2 separate regions of the Homo sapiens genome follow, and region 2 is linked to region 1. The links are contacts of gene promoters, found by promoter capture Hi-C in blood cells and fetal thymus (Javierre and others, 2016). All regions are on one chromosome and are shown on one strand. The core of a region is centred on a gene start or on the middle of the fragment in contact, and the rest is flanking DNA. Distances in the headings are between cores, read along the strand shown. Region 1 holds the start of ATP5IF1 (ATP synthase inhibitory factor subunit 1). Region 2 overlaps TAF12 (TATA-box binding protein associated factor 12).

What was found. The method cuts DNA at HindIII sites, captures the fragments that hold promoters and counts their contacts. A CHiCAGO score of 5 or more calls a contact.
Region 2: a fragment that was not itself captured here is called in contact with the fragment with the promoter of ATP5IF1 in region 1 in 1 of 17 cell types (endothelial precursors); the score reaches 5.4 in endothelial precursors.

What each region holds. Positions count from the first base shown.
Region 1 is chr1:28,234,002-28,241,187 of GRCh38, reverse strand. ATP5IF1 (ATP synthase inhibitory factor subunit 1) reads right to left here and starts at 5,064. Exons shown (of 3, transcript NM_016311.5): 1 at 4,918-5,064; 2 at 4,736-4,827; 3 at 3,088-3,351. The coding sequence starts at 5,004. The coding sequence ends at 3,210. RefSeq lists enhancers at 4,806-4,865, 5,659-6,165 and a silencer at 5,602-5,826. The HindIII fragment of the contact is 3,687 bases long and covers 2,889-6,575 here.
Region 2 is chr1:28,601,465-28,608,383 of GRCh38, reverse strand. TAF12 (TATA-box binding protein associated factor 12) reads left to right here. Exons shown (of 6, transcript NM_005644.4): 5 at 2,924-3,012; 6 at 4,810-5,534. The coding sequence ends at 4,845. Among named protein-coding and RNA genes, the nearest start is that of RAB42, 13 kb to the right of the region's middle. RefSeq lists an enhancer at 5,445-5,945. The HindIII fragment of the contact is 676 bases long and covers 2,989-3,664 here.

The DNA.
Region 1 (7,186 bases), core at 3,815-6,314:
ATCTTCTTGAGATTCTGTGAGACAATAGCCCCTATTTCTTCCAGTAAATTACTCTTTTTCTTCCCCTTTAGACAGCCAGTGCTGGTTTCTGTTACATGTAAACAAAAAGGATTTTATTTTTTATTTTTTTAGGCTAGTCAAGTGAAGCAGTGGGAGGCGGAGGACAAAAAGAATTTTGACTAAGGCAATAAATATATTATACAAGTGAAGTATTTCCCAAACTGTATTCTGTGGAATGCTGTGTTCTCAAATGTTAACAAGTTCCATACAAGAACCATTTATTTCTAAATTCTAAAGTCACATTCATATTATGAATTATATTAAACATATATAGTTACTTTTATTATACCTAATAATCTGTCTTTATAAAAGTGTTTACCCAAAAATGCCAGCAGATTCCATGAGAAACTACCTGTACTACAATGATCGTCAAACTTTGGTGCATACATGACAGAATCAACCGGAGGGCTTGTTAAAGGATTGCTGAGTCAAACCCCTCGTTTCAGCAGGTTTGTGGTGGGGCCTGAGAATTTACATTTCTTTTTTTTTTTTTTTTAGACGGAGTCTTGCTCTGTTGCCCAGACTGGAGTGCAGTGGTGCGATCTTGGCTCACTGCAACCTCCGCCTCCCGGTTCAAGCGATTCTTCTGCCTCAGCCTCCCGAGTAGCTGGGACTACAGGTGCCCGCCACCATGCTCAGCTAATTTTTGGATTTTTAGTAGAGACGGGGTTTTACCATATTGGCCAGGCTGGTCTCGAACTCCTGACCTTGTGACCCACCCACCTCGGCCTCCCAAATTGCTGGGATTACAGGCAAGAGCCACCGCGCCCTGCCGAGAATTTGCATTTCTAACAAGTTCCCAGGTGATGCTGACACTGCTGGCTCATGGAACCACTGCTGTAGTATTTTCCAAATTATCCTGATTCTAAGAACCACCTATGACCTGTGCTGTTTTTTCAGTGGTTACTGGCTCATGTCACATAAATTCTTTTAGGATTCAAACATGTTTGTGATATTACTCAGTATTTACATCTTGCTTTTACTGCAGCATGATAGAAAAATTAACCACAGGTATATCATAACAAAAAGACCATGAGTTACCATTTTCACAAAGTTCAGATATATTTAAATTAGCCTATTTAATCTTTTTTTGGTTGTTGTTGAGATGGAGTCTCACTCTGTCTCTCAGGCTGGAGTACAGTGGCACAATCTCAGCTCACTGCAACCTCTGCCTCCCAGGTTCAAGTAATTCTCCTGCCTCAGCCTCCCGAGTAGCGGGGATTACAGGTGCCCAACACCACACATGGCTAATTTTTGTATTTTTAGTAGAGATGGGGTTTTGCCATGTTAGCCAGGCTGGTCTTGAACTCCTGACCTCAGATGATCCGCCTGCCTCGGCCTCTCAAAGTGCTGGGATTACAGGCATGAGCCATCGCACCCAGCCTATGGTACACCTTTACTGAGGAAACAATTCAGGAACATCACTCTTAGTAAGGCAATTGTTGATTATAAGTCAAAAAAACACCATCATGTACAAATTCAGGGGATTTTGTATACCTTGTTTTTTTGGTTACAAATATGCAAAATTAAAGATGTTTGCTAATACTTGTTTCCAATTTTTAAACTTTTCAAGTGTTGCACTGTTAATAATGTTAAAATAAAAGGCATTTGACTTAGTATGATTGTTTCTTGAACTTCATCTTTTCAGGTTATTTTGTTGCTGGCCACTTGCAAGATTTATAGGCACTACTGAGGCCTCAGTGCTGAGATTCAGCAACATTATAATCATTATAATTCAAAGTTTAGTTTTTTGTTTTTTGTTTTTTTTTTTAAAGAGATGGGGTCAAAATGCTGCCCAGGCATGTCTGGAACTCCTGGGCTCAAGCAATCGTCTTGCCTCAGACTGCCAAGTAGCTGAACTGTAGGCACATACCACACCTGGCTGTGTTCAGTTTCATGGGCAAGTCAAACTATCTAGTGTTTTGTCTGTACAGACAAGGTCAATGCGACTTCTCCAAGCTTTTATCACTCAATGGTCCTACAGGCCCTTGTGAGATAGATAGGGTCTTAGAACAAATAACTCATTACAATCCTGGGCAAATACTCTACTGAACTGGTGAACTGAAAATGTTTTGCTAATGGCCCAAATGTCACCTCAAATTTTTTTGCCTAGAGGAGTTACACAACTAGTTTGTATAATAATTTAGTTATACTAGGCCCTCAAGTCTAATTTGAAACAAAATACTTGGCAAAGCAAAATATAACCTAAGAAATAATTCTGATTTTCTGCTAATAACAGACTTGGTTTAGTAGTCAAAAAACCTGGACACAAGTCTCACTGCCAAGGTGCTGAGTGACTGTATAAATCACATGATTTCTAATTCCAGTTCTCTCAATCTACAAAATTAGAACAAGGATGACTAGCTCATATTAAGTATCCTCTAAACCATTTTAAAAATGCAAAATGCTGTTTTAACTGATGGTACTTTCAATTGTATCTTTTTTTTTTTTTTTTTTGAGACAGAGTCTCATTCTGTCACCCAGACTGGAGTGCAGTGGCACAGTCTCGGCTCACTGCAACCTACACCTCCCAGGTTCAAGTGGTTTTCCTGCCTCAGCCTCCTGAGTAGCTGGGACTACAGGTGCGTGCCACCACACCTGGCTAATTTTTGTATTTTTAATAGAGATGGGGTTTTACTGTTGTCCAGGCTGGTCTTGAACTCCTGACCTCAGGTGATCCACCCACCTTGGCCTTCCAAAGTGCTGGGATTACAGGCATGAGCCACCGCACCTGGCCTAATTGTATCTTTTGAAGCAATGACTCCTTCGGATCTCCAGGATCCTCCTGATCTTTATGCTTCAGATTGGGATTTATCCTTCAGGAAGCTTTCTCTGAACACCTCTAATTAGACGGGGAGGGGTACTTTGTCTGTGTCACACCTATCCCCCCAACTCGTGTTGTTTCATAGCACTTATCACACTGTGCATTGTCTGTGGGTTCCTGGATGCAGGGACGCCTCTAATCCATTTTAGCAGTCCATTGGTGTCTGTCTATCTCTTCCAGATAGAAGAAGGCATCAAACACAGTTCACTGATGACAATTTATTATAATCTGTTAGTAGCACACAGACAAATATTAGTTAAACCAGAACCATGTCTACACAGAAGTGGGCAATGACATGTGCCATTCTATGGCACACGGTGTGCACTTAATCATCATGTTTTAGCATTTTGATCTTCTGCTTATGGCGCTCAATTTCTTTCTGCAGACGCTCAATCTCCTTCTTATGATGAACGATTTCTTCTTCATGGTGTTTTTTCAAAGCTGCCAGTTGTTCTCTACTCTGTGCTCTACAAGGACACGGTGGCTCAGGGTTTAATTTCAATCCTTCACCCCAAAGAGATCTCAAAGCATAACCTGTAATGTCTAAGCAAGGAATAGGAGTTCCAATTCCATGGGAGTCTAGCTGGTCATCCTCTTCTACTCCTCAACTAGTGAAAGAATACCCCATCTTAAATTGAGGTGTAGCCATCTTAAGAAGACCAAAGAGCTTATTGCTTTCAGATTCCTCTTTAAAATAGAAAACTCCAGAGAGATGTGACACAAGTCCCTAATACCTTATGAGGGGAACAACCCAGGGAACTTGACTCCCCTTTAGGGAAAAAAAAAGGAACAAAATGAGGAAGACAGACAAAGGGGTGTAGCTAAAAGGCAAATATCCATTTCCTATTCCAATCTGTCTAGAGCTTTCTTTGCCTATAGAAATGAATGGCCCACTGTAAGGCCAATAAAGGGTCTCTTGCATGCGCAGTACTTGGCAGTTCAATTTAGGTTCCAAGAAGGGACTGGATTACAATGTTGGTTTGGTCACATTTAGGCCTCAGTTTTCCTTAACTACAAAATGTAGGGGCTCAATTAGATAGTCTCTAACGGCTGTACCTTGGCTCTCTATACGGTATGGCAGGTGTCATGGTGATAATTCTCAACAGAAGGCAGAAGTGAAAGGCCAAAGGACAAGCAAAAGCAAGATTAATTCCTCACTGCTCTCCAGAGTGGACAGAAGTCAGTTAAAGATAACTCAAGGCTGGCAAAGGGAGGCCCAGCCCACTCCATACTCCTAAGCAGGAGAGGGAAATCTACAGGTCTAGGTTGGGCTGAGTAGGGCAAAAGCCTTTAGAAGATGGTGTCCAACCATAAGTAGCTCCCATGACCAGCTCCCATCATCCTCACTCTTGCGGAGTCGGGGGTCTAGAAACACCTGAGAAGCCTGAATGCATGCAGGCTTGCAAAGCTAAGGCGTGCTGGCGAGGAAGGAGAGCGTAGAGGGGGTGACAGGTGGGTAAGGGCCGAGGGAGTCAGGCTGGGAGGCAAACGTTGGGCGGTCGGATCTAGACACTGTGCGAAGAATCTGGGGGTGTTTCGCACGACCTGAGGAGAACTCCACGCGGGAGATGGTAATGATAAAGGAGGAGTTGAGCCGTGGGTTGTTTTGGAGACCCGCCGGTGGAAACGGTTTGGGGGCCTGAAACTGTTGTGCAGGTAACTGGGAGTGCCCTATACGTGGCAACGGTCGGGACATCAAGGGTTAGGGTATACTGGATTGGGGCCCGGGAGTTCTGTTGGGGGATGGGGCGCCCAAGGCACCAGGTAGGAACGGGTGGGGCGATTGGCAGTTTAAGGATTGGAAGGCCATTGGGAGATCCAGGGCTGGACTTGGGACCCGGTGAGCCTCACCGGAAATATCGTTCCTCTTCAGCCTGCTCTCTCTTTCCGAAGGCCCCACCGGCTTCCCGGATGGAGCCCGCGCCCCGGTCGACATTCTCGGACTGCAGAGAGACAGGGACACTGGTAAAGGTACGGAAGCAAAGATGGGATCCGCCCGCGGGGCTGGAGCAGCGGACACTGCCGCAGCGTACCTGATCCGAGCCGAAGCCTCGGGCTTGCATGGTCCTCACGCCCCACACGCCAAGCCACGTCCGCGCCGCCAACGCCGTCACTGCCATTGCTGCTGGAGCTGCACCTCTGGCGTCTCTGCCGCAGCAAGCAGTCTCTCGTTACGCGCTAATGGCAGGGACGGCCAAGCACCCAATCTGGTCGACGGAGGGGCGGATGAACACAGGAGTAGCGAATCACGGGAGAGCGGAGGCGGGCTTCCCGGAGCTCACAGCGAATCCCGAGCAAGAGACGGGTTTCTTCTTAGCCAACCGCTAGCAAGGGCTTAGGGCCAAAGGACTGGAAAGAGGAATGATGGAGGAGTTTAGAGAGCTGAGTGAGGAGAGTGCCAGAAGCCGAAATTTCGGCTCTTGGACCCATCAGAATGAGGCGTGGCGTCCACCTCCAGCCCACGATTTCAATTCTAAAGTCGTTATTATTCAAAGCCCAAAGGAAGTTTTCCCTTCCCTGGCCTGCTAGCATCAATAAAATGGGGGAATTCGGGGTTTGGGAGCTGTGTCCAGGATGCTGATGTCCAGGATACCGACGTCCAATGTGCCCTGGCTTAGATATACATAAATCGCGTTCATTTGTTATGAGAAGTGTCAGTGTTCTGGCTGGGCGCGGTGGCTCACGCCTGTAATCCCAACACTTTGGGAGGCCGAAGTGGGTGGATCACCTGAGGTCCGGAGTTCGAGACCAGCCTGGCCAACATGGGGAAACCCCGTCTCTACTAAAAATACAAAAATCAGCCGGGTGCGGTGGCACGCGACTGTAATCGCAGCTACTCAGGAGGCTGAGACAGGAGAATTGGCTTGAACCCGGGAGGCGGAGGTTGCAGTGAGCCGAGATTGCGCAACTGCACTCCAGCCTGGTGACAAAGCGAGACTCCGTCTCAAAACAAAAAAAAAAAAAAGAAAACCCAAATTATAACTTGACCACCTCAGGCACAGTTTCCTAGGACCTCTTGAGGCTGTGTTTCCCCAAGCTATGGTCACTCATCTTGGCTCAGAATAAACCTTTTAAAAATATTTTAGTTTGTTTTTTTCGTTAGCAACATATTGTTGAATGGGCTTAATAACTGCACTTTTGGCAATGTGGTGCAATGCAGTAGAAAAGAGCAGGCCAGGCGCGGTGGCTCACACCTGTAATCCCAGCACTTTGGGAGGCCGAGGCGGGCAGATCACCTGAGGTTGGGAATTCGAGACCAGCTTGACCAACATGGAGAAACCCCATCTCTACTAAAAAAAAAATATGAAAAATTAGCTGGGCATGGTGGCGCATATCTGTAATCCCAGCTACTCGGGAGGCTGAGGCAGGAGAATCGCTTGAACCTGAGAGGCAGGGGGTGCAGTGAGCTGAGATCACGCCATTGCACTCCAGCCTGGTCAACAAGAGAGAAACTGTCTCAAAAATAAATAAATAAAAATAAAAAATAAATTAGCTAGGCGTGGTGGCACATGCCTGTAATCCCAGCTACTTGGGAGGCTGAGGCAGGAGAATGCTTGAACCCGGGAGGCTGAGGTTGCGGTGAGCTGAGATCACGCCATTGCACTGCGGCCTGGGTAACAAGAGCGAAACTCTGTCTCAAAAAAAAAAAAAAAAAAAAAAAAAAAGGATAAGTAGGAGTCTAGGGAAAGCTTGACCTTAACCTCCCTTCATCCATCTAATGAATGTGAACAAGACAACAGTAGTCTTTACTCTCATGAAGTTTATAGCTCTTCTCTAACTCATTTTCTCTTCTCTGTTTCTTCTTTTTTAGATGAGAGAATTGGGCCAGATTATCTACCTGATTGATGATTATAAAAATACCTTCTTTGGGGCTGGGCGTGGTGTCTCACACCTGTAATCCCAGCACTTCGGGAGGCCGAGGCGCATGGATCATGAGGTCAGGAGTTCGAGATCAGCCTGACTAACTCCGTCTCTACTAAAAATACAAAAATCAGCCGGGCGTGGTGACATGCGCCTGTAATCTCAGCTACTCAGGAGGTTGAGGCAGGAGAATTGCTTGAACCTGGGAGGCGGCGGTTGCAGTGAGCCAAGATCATGCCACTGCACTCCAGCCTGGGCAACAGAGCAAGCCTCTGCCTCAAAAAAACAAAACAAAACAAAACCTTCTTTGTTTTCTATGAAATAGTAAAACTGGCTTTATTGATTATATTTTAGTTGAGAAAATAGCAGCCCTACCTGGTATTTTGTTTAATTCCATTTATGTGAAATACGTATTCACATATTGTTTAACTCCATTTATGT
Region 2 (6,919 bases), core at 2,077-4,576, 370 kb before region 1:
AACCTCCACCACCTGAGTTCAAGGGATCCTTTTTTTTTTGAGATGGAGCCTTGCTCTATCGCCCACGCTGGAGTGCAGTGGCGCGATCTTGGCTCACTGCAAGCTCTGCCTCCCAGGTTCACACCATTCTCCTGCCTCAGCCTCCCGAGTAGCTGGGACTACAGGCGCCCGCCACCACACCCGGCTATTTTTTTTTTTTTTTTTTTTTGTATTTTTAGTAGAGACCGGGTTTCACTGTGTTAGCCAGGATGGTCTTGATCTCCTGACTTTGTGATCCACCAGCCTTGGTCTCCCAAAGTGCTCGGATTACAGGCATGAGCCATCACGCCCGGCTGTTCAAGGGATTCTTGTGCCTTGTAGCTGGGATTATAGGCACTCACCATCACTCTTGGCTAATTTTTGTATTTTTAGTAGATAGGAGGTTTCACCATGTTGTCCAGGCTGATCTTGAACTCTTGGCCTCAAGTGATCCATCCGCCTCAGCCTCCCAAAGTGGTGGGATTACAGGTGTGAATCATCGTGCCTGGCCCTTTTTGTTTTCTTTTGAGGCAGGATCTTCCTCTTCACCCAGGCTGCAGTGCAGTGGTGTGATTATGGCTCACTGCATCTTCTACCTCCTGGGCTCAAGTGATCCTCCTGCCTTAGACTCCCAAGTAGTTGGGACTACAGGTGCACACCACCACATACAGCTAAAAAAAAAAGTTTTCTTTTTGAGATGGAGTCTCGCTCTGTCACCTAGGCTAGAGTGCAGTGGTGCCGTCTCAGCTCACTGCAACCTCTGCCTCCCAGGTTCAAGTGATTCTCCTGCCTCAGCCTCCCAAGTAGCTGGGATTATAGGCACCTGCCACCATGCCTGACTAATTTTTTATATTTTTAGTAGACACCAGGTTTCACCATGTTGGCCAGACTGGTCTTGAGCTCCTGACTTCAGGTGATCCGCCCACTTTGGCCTCCCGAAGTGCTGGGATTACAGGCGTGACCCACCACTCCCGCCCAGCTAATATTTTTATTTCTAGTAACAATGCAGTCTCACTATTATGCCTACACTGGTCTTGAACTCCTGGGCTCAAGCAGTCTTCCCGTCTTGGCCTCCCAAAGTGCTGAGATTACAGGAATGAGCCACCACATCTGGCCAGTGTCACTTTCAAATACTAATAACATAAATTGTTAGCAGAAGGTTTCAGACATTCTGTTTTCAAAGAAATATTGGGCCAGGTGTTGTGGCTTATGCCTGTGATTTGCTAAAAGTGACGTACACCTTTATACATGAGTTTAGGGGGCCATGCCCCTATGCCAGTTACTGTCAAAGAGGAATAAACAAAGTCCCTGTCCTCTGGGAACTTCTTGTGATAACCTTATAAGGAAGATAATATCCAGGGGCACCAGGTCATGGAACTGTGGTGTGGACATACTTCTCTCTATATCCATACCTATATGTTTACCCTAGGCTCTGGGCTGAATACTTCACATGCCTTATGTCATTGAATGCCCCAACCACCCTGTCAGTGGTTATTACTGTTGTTACAGCTACATAAAAAATGAAGAAACTGGGAGCCAGCGTCATACAGCTGCTCAGTGAAGCAGCAGACCTCAGCTTTGGCTCTTAATTCCAGAATGCTTGAAGTGCCTTCATGTCCCTTAGGTGTGAGAGGGGTTACTTTGAGCCTTAGGATTAAGACAACTAAAGAAATAAATGATATTTATTTTCTGTGAATTGGATAAGCTGCATGGAAACCTTAGGTCTCAGCATTCACAGCTTTGACTAAATTACCTCTTTTTCTTTGCAAGAAGCTTGAATTTTGTCCTTTAGAAACCTTGGAGGAAGCCAGGCATGGTGACTGATGCCTGTAATACCAACACTTCGGGAGGCTGAGGCAGGAGGATGTGCTTGAGCCCAAAAGTTCAACATAACAAGACCCCCTCTCTACAAAAAATAGAAATATACAGCCAGGCGCAGTGGCTCACGCCTGTAATCCCAGCACTTCGGGAGGCTGAGGCAGGCAGATCACCTGAGGTCAAGAGGTTGAGACCAGCCTGGCTAACATGGTGAAACCCCGTTTCTACTAAAAATACAAAAAATTAGCTGAGGCCAGGTGCGATGTCTCACGCCTGTAATCCTAGAACTTTGGGAGTTCGAGGTGGGTGGATCACGAGGTCAGGAGTTCAAGACCAGCCTGACCGAGATGGTGAAACCCCATCTCTACTAAAAATACAAAAATTAGCCAGATGCAGTGGCAGATGCCTGGAATCCCAGCTACTCGGGAGTCTGAGGCAGGAGAATCGCTTGAACCCAGGTGGCAGAGGTTTCAGTGAGCCGAGATCGCACCACTGCACTCCAACTTGGGCAACAGAGTGAGACTCCATCTCCAAAAAATAAAAAATAAAAAAGCCAGGCATGGTGGCACACACCTGTAATCCCAGCTACTCAGGAGGCTGAGGCAGGAGAATTGCTTGAACCTGGCAAATGAGCCTGTGGCATATTCAATGTTGAAGCCTGAGAGATTGCAGTGAGTCGAGATTGCGCCATTGCACTCCAGCCTGGGCAACAGGAGCAAAATTCCGTCTTAAAGAAATATAAGAAATAAGAAATATTAGCTGGCCATGGTGGCATGCGCCTGTAGTCCCAGCTACTTGGGAGGCCAGGATGGGAATATCGCTTGTGCTGGGGTAGTCAAGGCTGTAGTGAGCCAAGATTGTGCCACTGCACCCCACTCTGGGTGACAGAGTGGGAAGACCCTGTCTCCAAAAAAAAAGAAAAAACCTTGGAGAAGCCATGTCCATTTTCCCTATTTGTAATAGAATCCCTTTGTGGAGTTAGTAGCCAGATGCCCACATTCATCCTCCCTGATCCAAGGGGGTCACATTGCACTCCTGGTACTGCCTTCTTGGTACGTTTATCTCTGTGCTGGCTTCTTCCTTGCAGAGCGCCAGTGGAACATGTGGATCCCAGGATTTGGCTCTGAAGAAATCCGACCCTACAAAAAAGCTTGCACCACAGAAGCTCACAAACAGGTGAGGAAATGCCAGAGCCCTGGGGACAGCCAGGGCTGATTCCTTGAGTTACGTCTCAGAGTGGATACACACAGCTACCTTCTAGGGGGCCTCGCTTCCTCCACACAGCAAACTTCACTCTCTGGAGCAAGGGTCAGAGAGGGCAAGAGGCAGCAGCGGTCTCCGGGAGATCAATAAGATATTCACATGGTGCTGTGCTGTTCCCACATGTGGTCTGTTTTTTCTCGTAACTCTGTTGAGTGTCACTTAAAGCTGTTGATTCTGGGTTCTTCTAATATGGATGCAGCTCGCCCCACCATACCTCCTTAATGAAATCTTCCTTCATTGTTGCTGATTGCAACACCATATATGGTCCTATGAAGAGAGGGCAGGTTAAAGAAAGCAAAAATGTGCTGTACTTGTTCTGAGAGGTAGTATCCAGGCTGCCGTGCTGGACATTCTGGCCTGTGTCCTGGTTTTACCTTTGAACAAGGTTCCCTCTGAACAAGGAACCTAGGAGTCAGTGTGAGAATACTACTTCTGCTGTGGAGCAAGTCATCCCCATCTTTGGTCAGTCCAACAGCAGTGTTGGCCTCCCTCTGACAAGGCTGTTATCCTTTCTGTCTTAACTTAAGTGGCTACTCTGATTTGAAACGTGAGCTTTTTCCAAGCTTAGCAGGCACAACTGGGCAGTCCTGGTTGAGTGCCCCTGCTTCGCCATAGCCTGGTATCTCTGGAGCCGGTGTTTGTAAAGCTCACGAAGCAAGCCCTAAAGGGAAGCCACCAGTTTCCTGAATGGAAAGATTGCACTGTTCAGAAGAGAGTCCCTGCAAACAATGGACTGTCACTTTGTGCTCCCAAGTTAACCATTTTCAGCCCTATTTATTTAGTCGACAAATGCCATAATATTGGTATTTGGTCAAAAAGAATGAACAAAGTAAGTTGTTAATTTGGCTAGTAGCTAGTAATAGTAAAAGAATTCAGATCATGAAACCTATGATCTGAGTGTTTCCATGATGGACTGTGGTAGAAGTTGTTAGTCTTCAGTTTCCCTTCAATGCAGGTCATGAGATGTGAAATGTCAGCTCCCTTTGTGTGTGGCAACACTTTGAAATTGAGGCCCCTTCCCTATTGTGTCCATCATTGGAGAAAAGATTGGGGTCAGGGGACCCCAGAAAACACATGCTTGGCCAGGCGCAGTGGCTCATGCCTGTAATCCTAGCACTTTGGGAGGCCGAGCCTGGTGGATCACTTGAGGTTAGGAGTTTGACACCAGCCCGGCCAATGTAGTGAAACCCTGTCTCTACTAAAAATACAAAAATTAGCCAGGCGTGGTGGCACGTGCCTGTAATCCCAGCTACTGGGGAGGCTGAGGCAGGAGAATCACTTGAACTTGGGAGGCAGAGGTTGCAGTGAGCCGAAATCATGCCACTGCACTCCAGCCTGGGCAACAGAGCGAGATTCCATCTCAAAAAAAAAAAAAAGAAAGAAAGAAAACACATGCTTTGCCAGCTTATTCTCTAAGTCACCAAAACTCAAGAGCTGTCACTTTCTCCTGCTTTTAACTTTTTTGCCATTCTGCTAGCCTAGAGCAGTTTGGTGGATGAAATGGGTCCACTAGCCCATCTAAACATCTCTTGGGGCCTTGCAGACTGCTCTCTGGTTAAAAGGAATCTACTGAGATGCCTTGTGACTGCAGGTCTCTGAGGGCTGCGGCCTACAGTGTAGACCATGAGGCCTGCTAGCCACACAGAATGTTCCAGAAAGCTCCTGACTCCAGCTGCTGCTGTATAACTGCTTATTTGTCTCTCCTTTCAGAGAATGGCATTGATCCGGAAAACAACCAAGAAATAACACACGGAAAGGTCAGGGAATGGACAGCAATGTATTTGGAGATACTTGAGCTGAGAACTCAGCCATCTCATCCTTGGATTTTTTTTTTTAATGCTTTACAGAGAAGCATATATTTTTTATTAACAGTGCAGCAATATCTATAATGACTGAGAGGATCTGCCAAAAGAATAAAGCCTCCTACCCCAACTTCCGGTCCCTTTTCCCTGCCATCTCAAAGAGGAGCAATGTATCTTCCAGAGAAGATTTTATTTGTGGTTTATTATATAAGTGACTGAATATGGGACAAAGCATTATGGTCTTTTTGGGTAAGACAGTATTAGCAGGATTTGTAAAGGGTTTTGTTTCCTTCTCCCTTCCCCTTTTCCCTGTACTTTGTAATGTCAGTGTTTATATGAATATGACTTTCATTTGCTTTTCCAGAATAAAGAAGTTATTAATCGAAAGACAGGGTACCTTTGAAATCCCAGAGGGAGTCAGGACAAGCAAGCCTGGATTGTAGCTCTCTAGTCAGCAGGTGGCAGCATCGTTATTCATTTTGGTGTTTGAGAAAAACTCAGGGATTTTCCATCATTTTACCCCAAGGGAGGCCATAACATCAGCAGGAGTTTGAGTCCAGCTTCTCGGCCATAAGAATTGAGTAGGGTGACCTTCTCTCACGGCCCTCAACTGAAGAGGCATCCTTGTTTTGGCAATGTTATATGCCTAAAAACCCTTTTTGGTTTTTTTTGTTTTTTTTTAATTTTTTTTTTTTTGAGACGGAGTCTAGCTCTGTCACCCAGGCTAGAGTGCAGTGATGTGATCTTGGCTCACTGCCACCTCAGCCTCCCAGGTTTAAGCGATTCTCCTGCCTCAGATTCCCAAGTAACTGGGGTTACAGGCGCCTGCCGCCACACCGAGATAATTTTTGTATTTTTAGTGGAGATGGGGTTTTCACTGTGTTGGTCAGACAGGTCTCGCACTCCCAAAGTGCTGAGATTACAAGCGTGAGCCACCGCGCCCGGCCTAAAAACCCTTTTTGACCTGCTCTTCTGGAACTCCTGGAGAAAGCTGTGTTTGTCCCTGTCCCTGAGAAAGGATGGGAGTAGGCCCCTGTCCTCAGGATAGGCATGTCTGTGCAGGTGCCCATCTCTTCTTAGTTGCTGTTATCTTTGATCCTGGTGTTTTCACCATCATGCAGAAGAAACCAGGCGCCTTCCAGACCTCTGGGTCATGTCCTTCAGTGGCACCTAGCATCATCCTGTCCTGGGCCCAGCATGGCCCTTGTGGATTGTGAGAGTTCTGTGGGCTCTAGGGAGGATGGCTGTCCTACCCAAGGGTCACTAGCACAGGCACAGCCACCTTGATTTGCTTTGGTCCTCTGCGTCCTGAAGCTTGGCCCAGGATGAGACCCTGCATTTCAAAATTCCCTCCCACCCTGAGTTAGATCCCATGTCCCCCCCACTTCACAGTCTCACAGATACACTGAGTGAGCTCCTCAGAGGCTGTGCTAATGTTACTGTTGCTCTTGGCTGAAGTTTCAATGCCCCAAAGAGGCAGCCAGCTTCTTTCCCTGTGGTGTCACCCAGTGCTCACCAACAGGTCACTCTTGTGGCCAACCATCAGGACGAGGATGCTGAAGGGTTTCACTTTCCCCAGAACCTCCTGATGCCAGTGGTGACACTCATAAAGGATATTCTGTTGGTGATACCAAACACCAAGGGGCCTCCAGCTGGGTTTCAGTAGTACGATGAGTCACTGACCTTGGCAGCCAAGGAATCTAGAATTAGTTTTGAGATCTCCACTAAGACAGAAGGGAACACAGGAATCGGGGAAGTTTAATGGAAAGAGCTGAGGTAGAATCAAAAGACCCCAGTTCTTGATTTGCAGTGTGACAAGTAAGTGGCGTCATCTATCTCAGTCTTGTCCTATCTGCATATTGAGGGACTTGTTCATTCACTCAGCAAGTATTTATAATCCCATGCCTGTCCTAAGCAGAGGGATACAATGATGAATAAAAACAGACCCAGGTGACCGGGCGCAGTGGCTCAAGCCTGTAATCTCAGCACTCTGGGAGGCCAAGGCAGGTGGATCACTT